Linked DNA regions of Homo sapiens: region 2 is linked to region 1. Evidence: promoter capture Hi-C in 16 types of primary human blood cells and fetal thymus (Javierre and others, 2016). All regions are on one chromosome and are shown on one strand. Each heading gives the region's core, a stretch centred on a gene start or on the middle of the fragment in contact. The rest is flanking DNA. Distances are from core to core; before and after follow the strand shown.

Region 1 (5,871 bases), core at 2,780-5,279:
CGCTAAGCCTGGATCCCATAGTCACTGCCCTGGGGTGCCACTCGCCCGGCTCGTCCTACAGGGCTGGCTCGGCGAGCGCAGATACGACCCCGCAGCTGTTCAGAGGGGCAGAAATGCCCTAGGTGCCCATCCATGCCTCGATTCATGACCCTGGCCTCCAGGGCGCACAGTGGTCATGGGGAGACCTGAGCTGCCGAGTGGCCGGCCGACCTCGTGGCGCAACGGTAGCGCGTCTGACTCCAGATCAGAAGGTTGCGTGTTCAAATCACGTCGGGGTCAGCGGCTATTTTTCTTCGGTTTTTATTAACCCCCTTTATTTTAAACTACGGTCGAGCTTCAGCGTTCAGGTCATTGAAGAAGCAATATCTCCTTGGGGCCTGAAGGAGAGGGGTTTCTGGAAGTTCCAAGGCCGCCCCGTCTGGACAGCCCAACCATCGCGCGGGGATTTTTGCGATGGATCCGGGTACCGTAATTCTGGGCGGATAACGCGGGTCCTAAGACAGGAGCAGTTCTAGACCTCTCAGCAGAGGGACGAGGGTCGGGCCATCACGCATGGAAGAAGTCGGTCTCTGATCTACGAGTTCTCTTTCCAGTGCCGAGCGGATTCCTTCCAAATGTGCAGCCTTCACGACGTAGGCGAGCCCCACCTGCAGGAAGTTCAGGTTCCAGAGAAGTGAGATGCGGAGGGCAGTCTGAACAGCGAGGGCTGTCTGCAGACGAGGTGGCCGAGTGGTTAAGGCGATGGACTGCTAATCCATTGTGCTCTGCACGCGTGGGTTCGAATCCCATCCTCGTCGGCTAAGGAAGTCCTGTGCTCAGTTTTGTAGCATCAAAACTAGGATTTCTCTTGTTACCCCCAGTCACTCCATTCAGTTTTCGTGTCTTTCCCAGCTGCATCCATCCTTTCCTCATTTTCGTATGCAGCCGACTTTTTGTGACATCTTTGTATTCATTCTCTGCAATTCAGCTGACCTGGCCAAGGAAACAAGATCCTAAGCGTCTTTCCGGCGGCGCCGTGGCTTAGTTGGTTAAAGCGCCTGTCTAGTAAACAGGAGATCCTGGGTTCGAATCCCAGCGGTGCCTCCGTGTTTCCCCCACGCTTTTGCCAACATTAAACATTGTGAGGACAGTTGCAGAAACTCATAACTTCCATCCTACATGGTTTACTCACGTACCCATCTATCCTCTCCCGGTGCATCTGCCACACGCTGTTGGGTTTTTGCTCTTCGTGCACATGGTACTTGCGCCTCGACCTGCAGTTACACCAGTCGCATCATCTGTACTTGCCAGTACTGTCTGTTACTCGTCTAGGTGCTCAGTTAGTCAGTGTTTGTGTTCTGTTTTCATTTCTCATAAAGCAGTCCCACAACTGAAGGTTTTTCCCGAGAGAACTGAACAGTATTGTAACTAAATAGATTTATTTCAAGCTTTTCGTAGCAACTGGCCGGTTAGCTCAGTTGGTTAGAGCGTGGTGCTAATAACGCCAAGGTCGCGGGTTCGATCCCCGTACGGGCCAGGATTGAAACTTTTCGAAAGTACGATTACTGCACTCCGTTTTAGAGCCAAGTAACGTCTCTGGGGAAAAACAGCGCCACATTTCCAATCCCAGAACAGGGAGCGTATTGGAGCGCATTCTAAAGTGGGCGTGTCTTGAGAGGAAGGGATTGAGAGAAACCGGGGTTGTTTCGTGATCTTTGCTTCTACATCTTATGGCCACAATATATGGCTCCTGAACTTACTGTGTGAACTGTAAACAAAAGGCTTTGGGACAAATTTGTCTCAAACCACGTGGCACTGATCTGCAGAGTGTGGGAAATGGTCAGGAATAGAGCTGACAAGTGTTCCCAGTCTTCCCCCAGAGGTAAGATGTCCGTCCAATCCACCCAGCCCCTGCCTATTCATGAGGACCTGAGAAGACAATTTCTTCCCCTTCTCTTCTAGAGCATCTTTTTTACGTTTCTGTGGTTACCGGATCTCTGGGCCCCTGTGAGTGATTATCTGTGTCCTCACATTTCCCCTCAGACCAGATGCTTAAGAGCAAGAACCATATCTTTCCCCACGGAGCCTGAGACATCTCCACCCCCACCCCACTCCCAGCACCAGCCCCAAGGGAGCTGCGTGAACAACACCGACCCTCATTCCCATTCCTTTGGCTTATTAATCACTGCAACCCCACACAGACTCAGCCTCAGCCTTCGCAGCAGCAGCACTTTAATTCCACAAAAACTCAGAAAGCCAAAACTGATTAGAACACTCCACAACAGGTGAGCTTCAAAACCAGCAACATTCTACCTGAACCCTGAGAGCAGTGAGACGCCTCCCACCTCACCCCCTCCGCCGTGCAACCCATTCCTCCTAGCTGCACGCCGGTTCTGGCTGGGGAAGTGGTATGGTAGAGGGCCAGAGGGCAGAAGCAGAAGGCTCTCCATCAGCAGGGGTGCATCTTTGCCTGCGGGGTGTTTGGCCAAGGACGGCACAAGCTCCCACAGCCCCTGGCACCTGAGATGTGGCCACTGGAGTCAGGATAGCCACAGTGGGGGCTGGGGCTTCCTCTGTCCCTTTCTCCTGATTACATGTGGGAGTCACGTCCTCACCTTCAAGCAGACCTAAAGCCCCGTGTTCCCAGGGCTGGTGCTCTAGCTAGGGAGGAGAGTTGGGAAGAACAGGGTAGCTACAGATGGCCAACTGAATACAAGCAGAGCAACATCCCTTCCCACCAGGAGAGCCGTTAGAACTTCCCCACATACACCAGCCTAAGGCCCAGCGAGTGGGCACGGGCCAGCTGAACGCATCTGGAAGAGCCTCCAACACACAGGCCTCCCCTCAGTGGGCACTTCCCACCAGGACTCCCTGAAGAGTCCTTAGGGTCCTGCTGGGCCCTGCCCTGGCCAGGACCGGCCTCTCCTGTCCTCCTGGTCACTTGCACAGGGCCTCCAACACCTCCAGAGTACGTCGGATATCCCGGACTTGGCGCGCCAGCCCCTGAACCGGCTGCAGAGCCCGCTCCAGCTCCTCGCAGCGCGCCAGCAGGGTGTACATGCCCTTGATGCTCATGTCCACGGCTTCACCTAAGGAGTCCACAGCATCGCGGTAGGTCTGGATGCAACCCACGCTCAGCGCCGTCAGCTCCTGCACCGCGCCACCCAGACCGCGAAGCAGACGGTCCACCCGGCCTCCCAGCTCCCGACTCAACCGCTCCAGATCCCGCAGCACCTCGGGGTCGATTGGGGGAATGGCCGGTGTGGGTGTGGGTGCAGGCGCTGGGCAGGGCCGCGCAGGGGCAGAAGGCGGGGGTGGAGGCGCGCCGCTCAGACGGATCTTGAGTTGCAGGTTGTTGGCGACAAAGTGGGTAAGGTCGCCGTGGCGGCTCACTGTGCCTTCGAGCTCCAGGGGACTGGAGATGGTGGCGCGGCGTCCGCCGCCCGCGCCGGACTCGGCACTCCCTGAGGACCCGGCGCCACCGCACGCCTCGCTCAGCCCGTCCAGGCTGCGGCTGTCCTGAAGACGGCTGGAGAACGAGCGGCCGGCTCTGCTGCCCGCGGCCGCCTCCTCGTCGTTGTCTTCCTCCTCCTGCTGCTCAACATCCATCCCGCCGCCTGGTCCCCCTCGACGGCAGTCCCTCCCGGAGGAGGGCTTGCCCTCGGGCGGCGCCGGGTTCTTGTGCCGGGAGGACAGGGAAGGTTCGTGCTCTGCACCCGGCGCCCCCCTGCGGCTCCCGGCCCCAGACAGCGTCCCTTGAGGGCCGGGCTCGTTCTCCAGAGCCTCCCGTTCCGGCCGGTGGACGACGCCGCAGCTTGACGTCTTCGGGGACGTCCTGGGGTGGCGGTTCGCGCCCCCAACGTTCTCGGTCTCTTCCTCCCCGGACACCCGGAGGCCTGCGGGCGGCTCAGAGGACGTTCGGCCCGGCCCGCCGCCAAAGACTAGGGCCTGATGTTCCGCTACAGCCAGAAGGTCCGTCTCGGGCCCGGGCCGCCCCCGAGACGACTCCATACTGCAGGTGGGGGCCGCAACGGAGGAATTGGTTCGCCCCGGCTCCGGAGGCAGTGGCTGCGCCTTTAAGGGGCGTTGGTAGAGGCGAGCCGATTGGCAGCGGCTGACAATGGTAAGGACAGGAAAAGCATTTTGATTGGTCGCGGCGACCAGGAAGTCCCGGAAGAAGAGCTGTTACTGCACAGCGGAACACACGTGAACGCCGGCAGGGTGGAGAGAAGGAGGTGACAGCTGCTCCCGTCGCCCCGCCCTTTCTGAAAGCTGATGGGGCAGATCTTAAAGACCAAGGTCCTCAAATTCCTGAGTCCCGAGGGGTGGGGCTCAGATCCTTTCTGCCTGTAATTGTACCCCCCCCAACAGTGATTGCTTAGCAAAAATACCAAGTGGGGAGCCCACTTGGGGTTCCTAGAGAGGTTCTTAGGATGAAAATGGCATATCCTTCTTGGACCATCAGGGTTGAACCTAGTTGACTAAAAAGAAGGAAACCAGAAGTCCAGCATGAGCATGAATGGTTTGCTCTATCTTTCTTGGTTAAGAGACCTAACCACTGAACTGCTCAGAGCGACCCACTGTGGTCAAGGCAGCGGCCTCTGGGCTTTCCTATGCGTTTGTCACTCTTGTTCTGTGTCTCTTGCCCCTTTCACACTGAGGGGTCTCGCCCCTTGGAGGATGGCGTGTGATTTTGCCACGAGGTAAAATATTCAACAAATGAAATGATCACAAATTTTGATATGTGCTATACAGGAAATAAAGTGTTATGATTGAGAATATAACTGAGCAGGCACTAGTTTAGGTAAGGGGTCAGGAAAATACCTCTTTGGTGAGACTTTTAACTAAAAAGAACCAAAAAGACGCAGCCACCCCCCAGGCAGAGAGAAGAAAACTTGAGCTACCTCTCAGAGACAAAGAAGTCTTGACGTATTCAAGAAACTGAGGTGAGGGGGCAGGAGACATTGGGACTAAAACAAAATCAGCAAGATAAGGGGAAGGATTTCGAGCCAAGGAGCTGAACAGGCAGCAGGGGCCACGTCATGCAGGGGGCCTTGTAGTTCCTGTTAGGGAATGGAGATTTCCTCTAAATGCAATGGTGCAGCGACATTGGAAAGGTTGTACATTGCAACACATAGCCAAAGCTTGGAGACATCAGTATTTTTATTTATTTATTTATTTATTTATTTATTTATTTATTTATGTATTTAGAGACAGAGTCCCACTCCGTCACCCAGGCTGGAGTGCAGTGGCGCGATCTCGGCTCACTGCAACCTCCGCCTCCTGGGTTCACGCGATTCTCCTAACTCAGTCTCCCGGGTAGCTGGGATTACAAGCGCCCGCCACCACGCCCGGCTAATTTTGTATTTTTAGTAGAGATGGGGTTTCACCATGTTGGCCAGGCTGGTCTTGAACTACTGGCCTCAAGTGATCCACCCGCCTCGGCCTCCCAAAGTGCTAGCATGACAGGCGTGAGCCACCGTGCCCGGCCAGACATCAGTATTTAATAAAAACAGTTTGCTAACTCTCCTTAGCTGACAAAGGATGTGGTTGTTTTTTCCATTTGGATAGAGAGATGTCTTGAGGCAGTGTCATGCCAGCATTCAGAAGTGCAACTCCCCAGAACTTCCCAGCACTACTATCCCCAGGTGCCTGCCGGGGTCCTAGCCAGCCAACCCTAATGATAGTAGCTCAATCTTTCACCACGCCTGAGGAGTCCACAATTGTCAGCTGTCTGTATCTTATAGTCACCTGCAGCTTGACAAAACCTGTCATTCCTTTGCTCTAAAAAAAAAAACCTAAAAAGCTCATATATAATTGGGCTGGGTAGGTAGATATTCTTTAGAAGATGGGAGGACTTCCCTTGAGAATGGGAAGCTGAGCACAGGAAGA
Region 2 (5,408 bases), core at 2,535-5,034, 140 kb after region 1:
AGTGGCTCATGCCTGTAATCCCAGCGCTTTGGGAGGCCAAGGCGGGTGGATCACCTGAGGTTGGGAGTTTGAGACCAGCCTGACCAATATGGAGAAACCCCGTCTCTACTAAAAATACAAAATTAGCCGGGCATGGTGGCGCATGCCTGTAATCCCAGCTACTCGGGAGGCTGAGGCAGGAGAATCGCTTGAACCCGGGAGGCAGAGGTTGCAGTGAGCCGAGATGGCACCATTGCACTCCAGCCTGGGCAACAAGAGTGAAACTCCATCTCAAAAAACAAAACAAAACAAACCCTCCCCTCCCCAAAAAAAAACAGCACTAAGATAAAATCAGTAAGCAGTAAGCAGAAAATACAGCAAGGGCTGTGGCATAGAATGTTGTGTGTGTATGTTTTGGGGGAGGGTGGTGGCTTTAGGGCAGATCCTGGAAGAGATGACATTTGAACTGAGACCCAGATGACTTCCAGAGGAAGTAGCCCTGGGAAGATCTGGGGAAAGAGCATTCGAATGGAGGCAACAGGGGGCGATAGTCCAGGAACAGAAGGTAGTGGTAGTGGGGATGGGAATTGGTGCACGTGCCCCTTCAAGTGTCCTGGTAGGTGGAGCCCCTCCCCACCAAGGTCTCCCTCCCTCTTTGGCATAAGATGGAGACACACTGGGATACTCAGACAGACAGACATCCGGGGGCAGACGTGCCCCATACACCTTCTCTCCTGGCTCCTCATCCCTTACTGGAGTCCTGCCACTAAGGAAGCCCCCATGCTCCAATTCAGATGTTCTGATGGTGGGATAATGGGGAGATGCCGACCAGGTAAGGGTTATTTTGGGACATAAAGGTGTATAAAATACAACCATATGTTCCAAAAGAGACTGAGAAGACAGGAAGGGAGGGGACTGCCATGTTTCCTGACTTTTGGGGGTTGGATTCTGTTATCTCAGAGCCTGCTTTCCATTTTGGGGTGACCTGAGTGTGTTTGTCCTGGAGGGGTCTGCATTCTGCTGGCCTGTCTAAGGGGGCCGAAGGGCATGAAACACAGCTATATGGGAAAGGAACGGATGTGGGGGAATGAGGACTACAGCAAGGAGAGCGTGGATAGACAGAAGATGGGAATGGGGATGGGGTAAAGAGGACAGAAGAGGGAGGCTGATGGGGGGTGTTGCAGGACAGGTGGCAGGAGGTAACTCAGCTCATTCCAAATTGTCTCCCTCCCTCTCCCTCAGGCATCTCTGCTATGGGTGTCCAGTGTCCCCTCCCTTCTGTGTTCTTCCTGCCCCTCTGGGTTGCCTCCTGCAACTTCCTCATAGGTGGCGTAGGAGGGCCCATGGGAGAAACCTCTCAGCGGTGCCCTGTCTGCGTTCCAGGCATGCTGGTGGGGGTAGTACAGAGAGGTTCACTGAGTCAGCTGGGGAGTCCTAGAGCCACTATCACCTTATTCCCTCACAGTCTATCATGCTGGGGAGGTGGAAGAAACCAACATTTCCACAGGCTCAGGAAAGGTGCAGGCGTCCCCGGGGGGAGATGCCTGAGGCGACAGGGTGGGAAAGCTGGCCCCAGTTGGGGACCTTTCTCTGAGTCAGTGTGGACACTCTTCACCCGTGGCCCTGCTCCTCATAGCTGAAGCCTCCATATTCTGGGAGTCAATTGTCAACCTAAAAGGAAGAGGCTGAGGCACAAAATATGGTTGAAAGAGTTTACTTGAGCCCAAGGGGGCCGGGCATGGTGGCTCACGCCTGTAATCCCAACACTTTGGGAGGTCGAGGCAGGTGGATCACCTGAGGTCATGACTTTGAGACCAGCTTGGCCAACATGGTGAAACCCCGTCTCCACTAAAAATACAAAAAATTAGCCGGGTGTCGTGGTGCCCGCCTGTAATCCCAGCCACTCGGGAGGCTGAGGCAGGAGGATCCTTTGAACCCAGGAGACAGTGGTTGCAGTGAGCCAAGATCGCGTGATTGCACTCCAGCCTGGGTGACAAGAGCGAGACTCTGTCTCAAAAAACAAAAAACAAACGAAAGACAAAGGGAGGACGGCTGCCAGGAAGACTCAGACCCAAGTAACCTTGGATATGAGCTCCATTAGGGCTTTGTTACAAGCAGGTTTTCAAAGGCAAAAAAGGGGGACAGGGAGTGGGCTGTGGGCTGATACAAAGTTGTTAGGAATTCTCATTGGTTTAAAGGAAGCTCTTTGATTAGTGATTGGCTATATACTGTTAAGCTATAGGGGGTGGGTTATAGTGTCCAGTGTGGCATTACCAGGTTAATTCATAGCTACTTATGGCAAGAGCAAGCCAATGCAAGCAGTTAAAGAGGTGAATACCTAGCTCAAAGGGGGTAATGGGATGTCACTGTTGTCTCATTTTAATTCCTCTCTGGCCCTGATTTTTTTTTTTTTTTTTGTCACAAGATTTGGCTTTGTCACCCAGGCGGGAGTGCAGTGGCACGATCTTGGCTCACTGCAGCCTCGAGCTCCTGGGCTCAAGCGATCCTCCTGCCTCAGCTTCCTGAGTAGCTGGGACCACAGGCAGGAGCCAACACACCCGACTAATTTCTGTATTTTTTGTAGAGACGGCGTTTTGCCATGTTGCCCAGGCTGGTCTGGAACTCCTGGGCTCAAGCGATCCTCTCTATGGGCCTGATAATTTTAAAAGCCTTGCCCCCCTCAGATAAAAAGTTTTTCTTTTCCTACAAGATAAGGCAGATAGTAAAGGGCACGGGCCTCTCTTTGAGCTGGCCTTCTGTGGGCTCCGGGTCAAGATCTTAGTGGCCAACATCGCAGATAAACGGGGGTGGGGGTTGCAATCATGCCCACAAGCAACAGAGGAAAGAGAGGAGCCTCGCCCTCTTCCCCCCACGCCCCGGCCCCCAAGCCTGCTCACTAGCTCTCTCCTCCTCCTTCCACCCGCAAGGAACCCTCCAGCCCACTTCCTGTGATCCTTTCCGGAGCCCTTCAGCCTGGCTGGCTCTCCAGCCATCTCGGAAAGCTTCTCTTTCCTAAACCCTCCATACTCGCAGGTTCAGCTACAGAGGTAACTGCAGGCTCAGGTTCTCCAGGGTGGCCAGCCCACCAGCCCACCGTCCCGGTGCAGCAGTGCCTCTCCAGCGACAGCTCCACCGCGAGCCTGGCGGGCTCCCGACCTTGCTCCCCAGCACGTCGTCTCCAAGCCACGGTCTCACCACCCTCCATCAGCCTCGGGCGACACCAAGGGGAACAGAGCGCTGGAGCTCCTCGAAGTCCTCCCGACCTTAGCGGGGCTCCGTTCATCCTCCCGGACGTGGCCAGGCCCCGCTCTGGCCCCGCGCCCGCCCCTCCCGCGGGGCTGCCCCTGTCTCTCTGCCGGAGACCCGGACTCAGTGAGTGAGCGCAGCGCGGCCATAGGGCTTCCTGCAGCGGGGTCTCAGCACGTCTTCTGGCTGGACTCTGGGGTCTCCTGGCCTGGCTGTGTCTCCTGGTTCTCAGCGCTCGCCTCCCACGCGGGGCGGAGTATGGGAGTGGGCTGCTCCCGCGGAAGAATCCTGGGGAAGTTGAGGCACTGGCTCCCGCTGTTCAGAACACTGCCCGACGTCCCCAGAGCTAGCCACTCCTCCTTCCCACCCACCCGCAGCACTCTCGAGGTCGCAACGGCAGTCACCAGGTCCCGGGGCCTGCGTTCAGCTGCTTGATCCGACTAGGTTTGGCTTCGGACCCGAATGGGTCAGCTCCACGCCCGATGGAGTTTTTCAAGCTGGTGCCTGCACGTGCCCCCGCCGCGGGGCATGAAGCCGTGGGCTGCGCCCAAACTGCCTCACAACCACCGCTGACCCGAAGCCTCTCTCACTCCGTCCACTGTTAGAAACCTGAAGCTGCCCTCTGTGAGAAAGCGTTGGGATTGAATCCAGACTTTTGGGGAACCTTAACAATAAAGAATACAAAATATTGACTAAAAATTGGATTTGAAAGTGACCCTGAGTTGTTGTTGTTGTTTTTGTTTTAGACGGAGTCTCACACTGTCACCCAGTCTAGAGTGCAGTGGCGTGACCTCGGCTCACCGCAACCTTCGCCTCCTGGGTTCAAGCGATTCTCCTGCCTCAGCCTCCCGAGTAGCTGGGACTACAGGCGTGCGCCACCACACTCGGCTAATTTTTTATATTTTTAGTAGAGACGGGGCTTCACCATATGGCCAGGCTGGTTTTGAACCCTTGACCTCATGATCTACCCCCATCGACCTCCCAAAGTGCTGGGATTACAGGGGAGGCACTGCGCCCAGCTACTCTTCCTTGATTTACGACAACCCTTGGTTATTGTGATTGGGTCGAGATGGGTATGTGTCCCAATTTGGATCAATGAGTTCAGAGACAGTTAATTCGAGACCCACCCAAGAGCCACTTGAATGAGCCATTCTCTCTTCCCCTGGACATTGCAGTGTGAGGATATAAGGTTTGGATCAGTGGCTGCCATTTTAGTGCAGTGAGAGGCAGCTTGGAGTTGCTGGGGAGGCCACTGGATACAGCCTGATGAAGGAGCCAACACCACAAAACTGGAAATGGAGAGACAAGGGGAAAGCCAGGTCCTTGTTATCATCACTTGAGTTCCAGGATCAAGTCTCATCTGAAGCTTTTATCTTGATTTTTCAGTTATTTTTGTTTGTTTGTTTGTTTGAGGCAGGATCTCGCACTGTTGCCCAGGCTGGAAGGAAGTGGCACGATCTCGGCCCACTGCAACCCTCTGCCTCCTAGGTTCAAGCTATTCTCATACTTCAGCCTCTCTAGTAGCTGGGACTACAGGCATGCGCCACCATGCCCAGCTAATTTTTTTTTTTTTTTTTTTTTTTTAGATGGAGTCACACTCTGTCACCCAGGCTGGAGTGCAATGGCATGATCTTGGCTCACTGCAACCTCTGCCTCCTGGGTTCAAGTGATTCTGTTGTCTCAGCCTCCTGAGTAGCTGGGATTGCAGGCGCCTGCGATCATGCCCCACTAATTTTTGTATTTTTAGTAGAAATGAAGTTTCACCATGTTGGCCAGGCTGGTCTCAAACTCCTGACCTCAGGCGATCTGCCCGCCTGGGCCTTACAAAGTGCTGGGATTACAGGCACGAGCCACTGAGACCAGCCTGGATTTTTCAGTTCTATAGGTCATTAAATTCCCTTTATCCCTTAAACCAGTTTGAATCTCCTTTCTTTTATTAGCTACAGAGTCCTAACTGATTCAGATAATCCACAATACAATTGTACTCTTAGCTATTCCAGAGAGGCCATTTATCTCACTGGCAGCTCTTCCTCTCCTGTGTGCCTTCCTGTTCAGACTCTGTGGATCACGCAATGAATTCCCAAATGGTAGGATGCAAATCTGAGGTGGGCAGGTCCACCTCAAGTCGGCCTGCTTGTTACAATAGGTAACTTCGCCAAAGTTGCTTCAATTTGGTCCTCATC

Evidence for each region. Contacts are between HindIII fragments. The CHiCAGO score rates a contact against its expected background, and 5 or more counts as called.
Region 2: a contact is called between a fragment that was not itself captured here and the fragment with the promoter of BORCS6 in region 1, in 1 of 17 cell types (megakaryocytes). The highest score is 6.5, in megakaryocytes.

Annotation. Positions count from the first base shown.
Region 1 is chr17:8,186,151-8,192,021 of GRCh38, forward strand. It overlaps BORCS6 (BLOC-1 related complex subunit 6), which reads right to left and starts at 4,030. Exons shown (of 1, transcript NM_017622.3): 1 at 2,195-4,030. The coding sequence starts at 3,990. The coding sequence ends at 2,917. LOC124903913 (a long non-coding RNA gene) reads right to left here. Exons shown (of 2, transcript XR_007065604.1): 2 at 5,125-5,871. It overlaps TRW-CCA3-3 (tRNA-Trp (anticodon CCA) 3-3), which reads left to right and starts at 208; the gene lies at 208-279. It overlaps TRS-GCT4-3 (tRNA-Ser (anticodon GCT) 4-3), which reads left to right and starts at 716; the gene lies at 716-797. It also overlaps MIR4521, TRT-AGT1-1 and TRI-AAT5-5. RefSeq lists silencers at 189-238, 739-788, 3,282-3,331, 3,402-3,461, 3,662-3,711 and 1 more and enhancers at 469-578, 2,009-2,058, 3,197-3,843, 3,822-4,101, 3,844-4,489. The HindIII fragment of the contact is 3,696 bases long and covers 1,426-5,121 here.
Region 2 is chr17:8,323,805-8,329,212 of GRCh38, forward strand. No RefSeq gene overlaps it. Among named protein-coding and RNA genes, the nearest start is that of ODF4, 13 kb to the right of the region's middle. The HindIII fragment of the contact is 1,610 bases long and covers 2,980-4,589 here.